2 separate regions of the Homo sapiens genome follow, and region 1 is linked to region 2. The links are contacts of gene promoters, found by promoter capture Hi-C in human tissues and cell types (Jung and others, 2019). All regions are on one chromosome and are shown on one strand. Each heading gives the region's core, a stretch centred on a gene start or on the middle of the fragment in contact. The rest is flanking DNA. Distances are from core to core; before and after follow the strand shown. Region 1 holds the start of ERBB3 (erb-b2 receptor tyrosine kinase 3). Region 2 overlaps CNPY2 (canopy FGF signaling regulator 2).

The links. Contacts are between HindIII fragments. The study calls those that stand out against the background at their distance.
Region 1: the fragment with the promoter of ERBB3 here is called in contact with a fragment that was not itself captured in region 2 in 2 of the 25 tissues and cell types used here (dorsolateral prefrontal cortex and heart right ventricle).

What each region holds. Positions count from the first base shown.
Region 1 is chr12:56,078,749-56,083,695 of GRCh38, forward strand. It overlaps ERBB3 (erb-b2 receptor tyrosine kinase 3), which reads left to right and starts at 1,417. Exons shown (of 28, transcript NM_001982.4): 1 at 1,417-1,634. The coding sequence starts at 1,553. RefSeq lists an enhancer at 1,074-2,064. The HindIII fragment of the contact is 14,559 bases long and covers 1-4,947 here.
Region 2 is chr12:56,306,359-56,311,383 of GRCh38, forward strand. CNPY2 (canopy FGF signaling regulator 2) reads right to left here. Exons shown (of 6, transcript NM_014255.7): 4 at 4,853-5,025; 5 at 4,600-4,696; 6 at 3,486-4,237. The coding sequence ends at 4,194. Among named protein-coding and RNA genes, the nearest start is that of CNPY2-AS1, 2.5 kb to the right of the region's middle. The HindIII fragment of the contact is 3,127 bases long and covers 1,469-4,595 here.

The sequences.
Region 1 (4,947 bases), core at 167-2,666, 230 kb before region 2:
TTTGTATATGTTAATGGTTTTGTTGTTGCTATTATTATTATGACTACTATACACATGGTCTGGAGAAAGCCAACCTCCCCAAAGCGGAGATTCTCCAGTAGAGAACAGGCCCTCTAGGTTGCATATCAATAGGGAGCATGTTTAAGGAATGTTAGCCGGTAGTCTTTGCTAGGTGTGAGGGGTGAAATTTTTCTTTATCAAGGCTCAACTGTTTTCGAAGTCTTCAGGCTTGAAGTTCTGGAGAAAACAACTAGGCTCTCCGGGCGAGATCCCGAATACCAGTTTAAGGGATTTGAAATGCAAGGCCGTCTGGGACTCCACTGCCACGGATGGGCACCAGGCGGCGCCGGTCGGATCCGTCCCGGGACTAGCAGGGCTTTGGGCAGCAACCCGCAGGGAGCCCGACCGCCTCTGGCCAGGTCCGGGCAGCTGGTGGGGGAGGTTCCAGAGGTCCACGCCATTCGTGGACGCAGTCTCTAGTGTCCTCTCCGCGTCCCACTTCACTGCCCCATCCCCTTTCCTGCGAGAGCCTGGACTTGGAAGGCACCTGGGAGGGTGTAAGCGCCTTGGTGTGTGCCCATCTGGGTCCCCAGAAGAGCGGCGGGAACTGCGGCCGCCCGGACGGTGCGGCCAGACTCCAGTGTGGAAGGGGAGGCAGCTGTTCTCCCAGGCGGCCGTGGGGGGCAGCAGAGGGGACGGCGACAGGTGCGGGAGCCCCTCCCGGGGTAGAAGTGGAAAGGCGGGCTCCGGGGTCTGTTCCCAGGCTGGAAACCACCCCCGCCCCCCATCCAAATCCCCGGGAGAGGCCCGGCCGGCGCCGGGTCTGGAGGAGGAAGCGGCCAGAGACAGTGCAATTTCACGCGGTCTCTGTGGCTCGGGTTCCTGGGCTGGGTGGATGAATTATGGGGTTTCGAGTCTGGGAGAAACTGAGGTGGCCTGGACGTGAGGCAAAAAACACCCTCCCCCTCAAAAACACACAGAGAGAAATATTCACATTCTGAGAGAAAATCCACCAAGTGAACCAACCGGCTAGGGGAGTTGAGTGATTTGGTTAATGGGCGAGGCCAACTTTCAGGGGGCAGGGCTTTGGAGAGCTTTCCACTCCCTCATTCATTACCCTTCCCTGGATCTGGGGGCTTTCGGAATCTCGACCTCCCCTTGGCCTATCTCCTGCAGAAAAATTAGGGTGAGCCCCATCCTCGATCTGCTCCGCCAAGTTGCGGGACCGCGGGGCGTGGCACGCTCGGGGCAGGCGGTCCGAGGCTCCGCAATCCCTACTCCAGCCTCGCGCGGGAGGGGGCGCGGCCGTGACTCACCCCCTTCCCTCTGCGTTCCTCCCTCCCTCTCTCTCTCTCTCTCACACACACACACCCCTCCCCTGCCATCCCTCCCCGGACTCCGGCTCCGGCTCCGATTGCAATTTGCAACCTCCGCTGCCGTCGCCGCAGCAGCCACCAATTCGCCAGCGGTTCAGGTGGCTCTTGCCTCGATGTCCTAGCCTAGGGGCCCCCGGGCCGGACTTGGCTGGGCTCCCTTCACCCTCTGCGGAGTCATGAGGGCGAACGACGCTCTGCAGGTGCTGGGCTTGCTTTTCAGCCTGGCCCGGGGCTCCGAGGTGGGCAACTCTCAGGCAGGTAAGTGGCGCGAGAGCACCGGCGGGCTCGGCACCTGGGAGCCGGAACCCAGTGCGCGCAGCCTCGGAGGGTATGGGCACGGTCTCAGGCGGCGCGGGGTTGTGGGTGCTGCCCCCGGTTTGCCAGGACCACCTGGGAGAGGGGCGGTCAGGCTCGGGTTATCGGCGTGGTCCGGCCGAGGGCGGCATTCCGGGACCCTCACGCCACCCTTCTCCAGAGCGTCGCCGACCCTCTAATTGGTCTCCCCAGAAGAGGCTGAGGCCGAAACAGTAGTTCACACTTCTGAGGGGCCCTGCAGGGAGGGGAGCAGGGAACTTCATTCTGTAAACAGGAGGTGCTTGGAGGTGGGGGCCTTGGCGGGAAGGGTCTCGGTTTGCTCGCCAACCCCCTGCCCCCCACCCGCGCCGATTTCAGCTACCCCTAGTTTCGTTGTTTTGCCGACAGGGCGGAGCTACAGAAGGTTGGAGGGGGTTGTTGTTCTCTGGTGTTGGAAAAACAGGAGCGGCACCTCCTCTTCCGTGAGTGAGCCTGCCCTGGGGAGGTCTGAGATTAACCAGAGGGCCAAGTTCAGGTGACATCAGGCAGGAGGCCCAACAGAGGCTGGCGCCCCCTTTCCTCAGTATAGCAGAGCTTAAGCAACATCTCTTTGTCAAGACCCAGGTCAACACAACTCATATTTATTGAGCATCTACTATACACAAGGCCCTGGGCCAGGAGCTGTAAGGGCAAGGATGTCCAGCCTCTGGTCTTTTCTCTCCCCAACCTGAGGATCAAGAGGGCACCTCTGCTACTTTCTAAGCCTCCTGCCTTGGGGAGTCCTTCCTGGGCTCAGCTTGTGCCTCCCGCCCCCATTTTGCTTATTGTCTGACACTGTCTCTAGGACCCTAGACAGAGCCCCGGATTGCTCTTCTCCAGTCCTCCCCCGACTCCCATGCTATCTGAGCCCACCCCTTTGGGGTGTCTCTGGGACCGTGGACACCTGAGGACTGAAGTTCTGTGGATCTCCTCCCCTCCCCTCAGATCTCAGCTTGGGGTTTGGCACAGCCAGGGCCCCTTCCCCAGTGTGGGAGTGGAAGAAACCACCTGTGCTTCCCTCACAGTTGCTGGGCCTAAATTTAGATCCTGGGATTTTTAGATGTGAACACTCCCAGCTGGTGGAGGGGGGTGGTCTGGGGACTGGCGTGGGAGGGAGCAGTGGAGTGACTGTATAACTGTCCCATCCAGACTCCTGCAATCTTCACCCAGAAACCCAGGAGTACCAGAGTCTGGCCACCCTCCCTGGGGAGGCAGGAGGCAGGCATGGTTGGGTCTCTTTACCCTTTATCTGGGTCCTGCAGCCTCTGGGCATCCGGCCCTGTCTCAGTCCTTCTATAGCCCCTTTGTCCTGGCTGTGATGGGGGTGGGGGATGTTGGAGGGGAGGCCTCTGGTTGAGGAGGGGCTGGAGATTCTGGCTCTATCCCACCCCTAGTGCTCTCTACCAAAGGAGGGCCTGTGACACTGCCCCTCCCTATGCTCCCGGTTCCTGGGTACAGCAGGGATTTTTATGATTCCCTTCCCCTGCCCTGCTCCCCAAGCTGCCTAGCTCCTCCCCAGAGGTGTTGTTTGTGCTCCCTTCCTGCCCAGGCCCTTTGCCCCCTGTTTGTGTAATATGGACTTTACCCTCAGGGTAGCAGGGAACTGGGCTACCTCTAACACTGTAGCCTTCCAAGCACAGACACAAAGTCTGCACAAACACTTATGGGCACGTGGGATAGATGGGGCCACCTGAAATACTTCCTGCAAGGAAACCCAACTATAGATTCCTGAGCCAGCAGGACCAATGTGTACGTGTTCGTGTGTACATTGTGTGTGTATGTGTGTGCCCACACTACTACTTCCCTGTGCAGAAAGCTTGGCTCCTCCCTTATCTGGGGAGAAGTGTTGGCACTATAACTTGGGAAAGGGGGTATCCTGCCAGGAAGGGGATTGGGGTGGGGCTGTTCCAGAAATGACTAACCTTCCTAGTCTCTTTCATTTCAACCCAAGGACCCTGGAGTTCCCAGCTCCTCTGGAACTAGCTCTCTTTGCTGGGACTAGCCAACCTTCATGGGGAGTGATAAGGAGCCCTCCAAGGTCAAGAAGTCAGACTAGGGGTGTATGTTATAGGAGGGATTGGGGCCTCACCAGTCTCCCTCCCTCCATTCCCACTGTTGCCTCCCACTGAGCTACCACCGCCTCAGGGAAGGGTGGCTGGAACAGGTGGTATCTACCCCCTACTCCCCACCCCACACATGGTCTTTCCCTGAACCAGAGGAAAGAGACTGGGGTAGGGCTTCAGAGTCCAGGACTTCCCATAGCCCGTTGTCCACCACATTTGCAAAGAAGAGTGAACTCCCAAGGCTGACATGCCATGTACCTCTAGTCTAGGCTCTCCCCTAGTGTGGGTGAGGATTGCCATGGTGAAAGGCTTTTTCATGAACCTCTTCTAACAATGAAATTGTGTGGAGGCTCAATATGGGGCATCTGCTACTATCTCTCTCCAGGTTCCTCTGTATTTGCTGAAAAATACTCTAGGGCTGGAAAGTGATGCTGAGGTTGCTAGAGTGTGTTGGGATGGGGGAGAGAGTGAGAAGGAAACCCTGAGTTTAGGAAGGCGGGGAGGCAACTAGCTCCTTATCTTTCAGCTTTAAAGACAAAGCTCCCATTGACCCCCCCTCACCCCAGCACTGCCAGAGCTCCCCCCTCTACTGAGGTCACTTGTCTGAGCCCAAGGCTTGAGGGTGGAGGGGAGTGCTGCTGAGGACGGGGTGTCTAGGGACAGGGTGGGGCAGCCCCCCTCCTGGATAGAATCGCCTCATTGTGGGCTGGACTGTGGCCCCAGGCACTGCCCCCACCCTCTGCCCCCATCCCACCCTCAGTAGACACAATAGGGGCTGTGTACTAGTCCCAAAGAGATATTTATTCCAGGACCTAGAGAGAGGCAGGATGAGGGTAGAGAAGTGAGTGCCCTAGTTGGAGGGGGAGAGGAGGGTAATCAAAGTTGCGGCCTTTTCCTAACTTCTCTTTTCTAGGGAGAGAAACAAATTCCCTGTCTTCCTTCTCAGTTAACCCCTTAGTACCCAAAAGAAGCACAGAGGGGTCCCAGGTTGAAAAAGGAAATCTTTTCACCTTCCCATTCATGGAATGGTAAGGGGATTCTGAGAAGAGAGAAAGCTCTCAGGCCACTACAGCTTCTGCCTATCGCTTGTGGGAGGGTTGGAGGCAAATGCCATCTGATCCTGTCTAATGTAACTGGAAGAGGGCAACCAAGGGGGTGATCTTTGGGGATGGCAG
Region 2 (5,025 bases), core at 1,782-4,281:
ACCAGTCTGGCCAACATGGTGAAACCCCACCTCTATTAAAAATACAAAAATTAGCCGGGCATGGTGGCAGGCACCTGTAGTCCCAGCTACTTGGGAGGCTGAGGCAGGAGAATCACTTGAACCTGGGAGGTGGAGGTTGCAGTGAGTCGAGATCATGCCACTTCACTTTTTTTTTTTTTTTTTTTGAGACAGGGTCTTGCTCTGTTGCCCAGGCTGGAGTGCAGTGGCGAGATCATGACTCACTGCAATCTCGATCTCCCTGGCTCAAGCAGTCCTCCCACCTTAGCCTACTGAGTAGCTAGGACTACAGATGCCTGCCACTATACCCAGCTAATTTTTTTGCATAGACAGGGTCCTGCTATGTTGTCCAGGGTGGTCTCAAACTCCTGGGCTCAAAAGATCCTCCTGCCTCAGCCTCCCAAAGTGTTGGGATTATAGGTGTGAGCCACTGCATCTGGACTAAACCTTTTTTTGAGTCGCACTTTATTGCCCAGGCTGAAGTGCAGTGGCGCAATCTTCACTGTAACCTCTGCCTCCCTAGTAGCTGGGATTATAGGCGCATGCCACTACACCTGGCTAATTTTTGTATTTTTGGTAGAGATGGGTTTTTGGCATGTTGCCCAGGCTTGGTCTCGAACTCCTGGCCTCAATTGATCTGTCCACCTCGGCATCCCCAAGTGCTGGGATTACAGGCATGATCCACTGGGCCCAGCCCTAAAACGTATTTCTAAAGGACTAAATTTTCACATAATAAACTTTCCTGTTATATCTGTACCTCATTTAACACTGTCTTCGGAAATGTTTGTTAAGTTCTAACATTTTACTGATAAACTAAGTTAGAAGGCATCTGAAGCTTGATCAGATTTACAAGGTTAAGAGCATATGCTCTACCAAATACTGGGCTATAATTTATTATAATGAACCTCCAGAGGGTTCAGATAAATTCATGCATTCCTTGTGATATGAATTAAAACATGTGCAAAGCCAGGCATGGTGGTGCTTGCCTGTAATCCTAGAAACTCAGGAGGCCAAGGCAGGAGGATTGCTTGAAGCCAGGAGTTAGAGGCTGCAATGAGTTATGATCATGCCATTTCACTCCAGCCTGGGCAACAGAGCAAGACCCCTGTCTCGCTAAGATAGTAATAATAATAATGATAATAATAAAAAAAATAAGAGGTTTACAAAGTGTATCTTCCTGCTGGGCACGGTGGCTCACGCCTGTAATCCCAACACTTTGGGAGGCTGAGGCAGGCGGGTTACTTGAAGCCAGGAGTTTGAGACCAGCCTGGCCAACATGGTGAAACACTGTCTCTACAAAAAACTCAAAAATTAGCTGGGCATGATGGCACATGCTTGTAATCCCAGCTACTTGGGAGGCTGAGTCAGGAAAATCACTTGAACCAGGAGGTGGAGGTTGCAGTAAGCCGAGATTGCACCACTGCACTTCAGCCTGGGCGACAGAGCGAGACTCTCCCTCAGGAAAAAAAAAACAAAAAACAAAAAAACCCCACAAAGTGTATCCTTAATCAAGCCTAGAAGGTAACATCCACCCTTTCCTATATAGGACATATCCTTTGTGTACCAATGACAAAGTCTCTCCAGCTGGAGAGTTCTTAACAGCTGTACTTTGACAAACCAGAAAGGTGCATCACAAGTAACTTGTTACTGATTAACATTAAATTTATTTATTTAAAACTATGAATAATTTGTTTTCTAAATTAAAACAGTTTTAAGTTTCCAGAAGAGAACTCTCTTTATTGTATTTGAGACAGGGTCTCACTCTGTTGCCTAGGCTAGAGTGCAGTAGTGCAATCACAGCTCAGTGCAGCCTCAGCCTCCTGGGTTCGAGAGATCTTGCCACCTTGGCCTCCAGAGTCGCTGGAACCACAGGTGCACACCATTATGCCGGCTAATTTTTGTATTTTTTGTAGCAATGGGGTCTCACTATATTGCCTAGGCTGGTCTCAAACTCCTGGACTCGAGTGATCATGATCCTTCCACCTTGGCCTCCCAAAGTGTTGGGATTATGGGCACGAGCCACCGCATTTGGCTTGAAGAGTACTCTCATTTATACTTCTGATAAGCTTTCTGATGGAAAAGAAAGGCATTTTTAGGCACGAAGCACGAAATGGACAGCACCTTGGGTATACTTTCAGGGACATGAAAAAATGTAATTATTACTTATATGCATCATAGAAGAAAAAATAAGCTTTATAATAGTTGGTTTGGAAAACTAGAGCGAACACAGCATTTCTTATGGATGATGGGAGAAGATGGAATTAACACCAGGCTGATATTAGTTGACAACAAATATCAGAGTGCTTGCTCTGTGCTCTAGTTAATTTGTCAGATTTCACAGGGATTTTTGGTACAAGAAAGCTTTGTGGAATATATGCATTCTATGCGCCAGGCTTAGTGCAAGGTATTATTAGAGAAAAAAGACTTAAAATAGAAGGTACTCTATAGCTATATTAGATCAGGTCAGCACTTGGGAAAGTTAGCTTATAGACCCAGTTTTGCCATTAAATACAGAACTTCATAAAGTTCTATGGCTTCTCTGGGCCTCAGCTTCTTCATCAATAAAATGGGCAGAGGTGAACCAGACGACCTCTAAGGTTCCTTTAGATTCTAAAATGATGTAATTTTTAAAACCTTTGAAATGTTTATTCAGGTCTTCTCTCCTTGAGGTGTTCTTGGGACCGGAGATATTCCATTTGAAACCCTGAGACAACCATACCTCAAGCTCAGAGTGCTTAAGAATTTTCTGCCAGGTGCGGTGGCTCACACCAGTAATCCCAGCATTTGGGGAGGCCAAGGCGGGCGGATCATGAGGTCAGGAGATCGAGACCATCCTGGCTAACACGGTGAAACCCTGCCTCTACTAAAAATACAAAAAAATTAGCCAGTGCAGGCCGGGCGCGGTGGCTCACGCCTGTAATCCCAGCAGTTTGGGAGGCCAAGGCGGGCGGATCACGAAGTCAGGAGATCGAGACCATCCTGGCTAACATGGTGAAACCCCGTCTCTACTAAAAATACAAAAAATTAGCCGGGCGTGGTGGCGGGTGCCTATAGTCCCAGCTACTTGGGAGGCTGAGGCAGGAGAATGGTGTGAACCCGGGAGGCGAAGCTTGCAGTAAGCCGAGATCGCGCCACTGTACTCCAGCCTGGGCGATAGAGCGAGACTCTGTCTCACAAAAAAAAAAAAAAAAAAATTAGCCGGTGTGGTGGCGGGCGCCTGTAGTCCCAGCTACTCGGGAGGCTGAGTCAGGATAATGGCGTGAACCTGGGAGGCAGAGCTTGTAGTGAGCCGAGATCGCGCCACTGTACTCCAGCCTAGGCGACAGAGCGGGACTCCATCTCAGAAAAAAAAAGAAAAAAAGAATTTCCCAAAAGAAGGTATCCTTTAGGTTTTCATCCCTATGCCCCAGTCTGGAATCTCTACACACAGAATTGTGGACAGACTTATAGTCCAGATTGACAATGGCTAGTGATAGATACACTTTATTGTTGCCACTGGCATCAAATTTAAAAGCTTAGGCTGGCAAGCAAGGCCTCTCATTAAACAACCTTCCTTACCTCGTCTGTCCCTATCCGATAAAGCCCTTACTTTTCAGCTGAGTTGGTCACATCCATTTTCCCCTTCCTGTCTCTGTTCTTGCTGGTCCCTCCATCTGGATGGGCAGGGAAGGAAGAATAATGCATATCCGTTATTTCCTTCAAGACCAAGCCCTGTCTTACTTTATGTTTCAACAGCCATGAACACAAGGGATTTCTAGAATTCTACACTACCATACACTATGTTCCCCTGCTTCCTCATGGAGGTTCCTCTATTCTCCACAATTAGACTCTAAAGACGTGGTATTGAGTGGGCACTGACTGAAAGCTTATCTAGTTTATGAGTGGAGTGGAATCTCAGAAGGTAGAAGAATTAAAGGTTCAGGCCTCTCCTACCTTTATCCTGTATCAATCCCAAAACTCTTCTTTCTCCTCCATTATCTTTCCTGTCTATATAACTCCTTATCTTCAAGCTTAATGTAAGGGCAATTCCAGGCATGAAAAGACAACACAGTTTGTACTTTTGGTTTCATATTTTTTCAGTTAATTTCAGTAAAAACATAATATATAAAAGGCATTGCCACCATTTTCCCCTCCTGGGGGTGATCCATCAAGCCAGTGTGGGCTGCTCCAGTGGTTCATAGCTCATCATGCGATATGTGCAGGGCATGGTCACAAAGATCTGCAAATGGCAAACAATTTAAAGGAATATGCCATTCTCATACTGATATCTGCCAGTATCAAGAAAATTTCCCAGACCAAGCTGACACAAACACACACCAACCACCATTCTGCAGAATATATGCTTATAAATGATAAAACATCCCCACTGTCCTCTCACCTGTATCTCAGGGTCAAGGGGACACAAATTCTGAAAGCTGACAGAAAATGTGGAGGAACACCCCAAGTCCCTAAGCCAAGGGAAATGGAAGACAGCTCTTGACCTAATACCAGAGGTTTCTGGGATGGGGGTGTATGGGTGAGTTAGGGAATGTCAGGTTCCACAGAGCTACTAGAACAGGAGATAAAGTGGGGGCAGCTTACCTGTTCGCTTACTGCAAAGTTTGTCTTTAACATTGTCAGCCTCTCGGGAAAAGAATTCAATGAGTTCATCCTCGTATTCCTCCACAATGCTCTCACACTGCCAACCCAAGGGAGAAATGGGTGACACAGGGCAATAAGAGGCCTCTTGCCTTCACTTCCAAAGAGGAGGACAAGGATATCAGCCTAACTTTCTAATTGGTTCTCCAACAACCCCTTAATGTCCAAGAACCAGCTACCGATTCCCATAGCTCACCGCAAACTTGAGGGTGCCGCTAATATCTGAGTCGATTCGGATGCCTTGTAGGTCCAGTTCACTGGATTCTCCATTCCGGCCCACTACACGTACGTAGTTCTTGCGATGGGTGGAAGGATCAATCTGTTCCCCATACTCCTTCATCCGGTCACATATCTCCTCCAGCAGCTCTG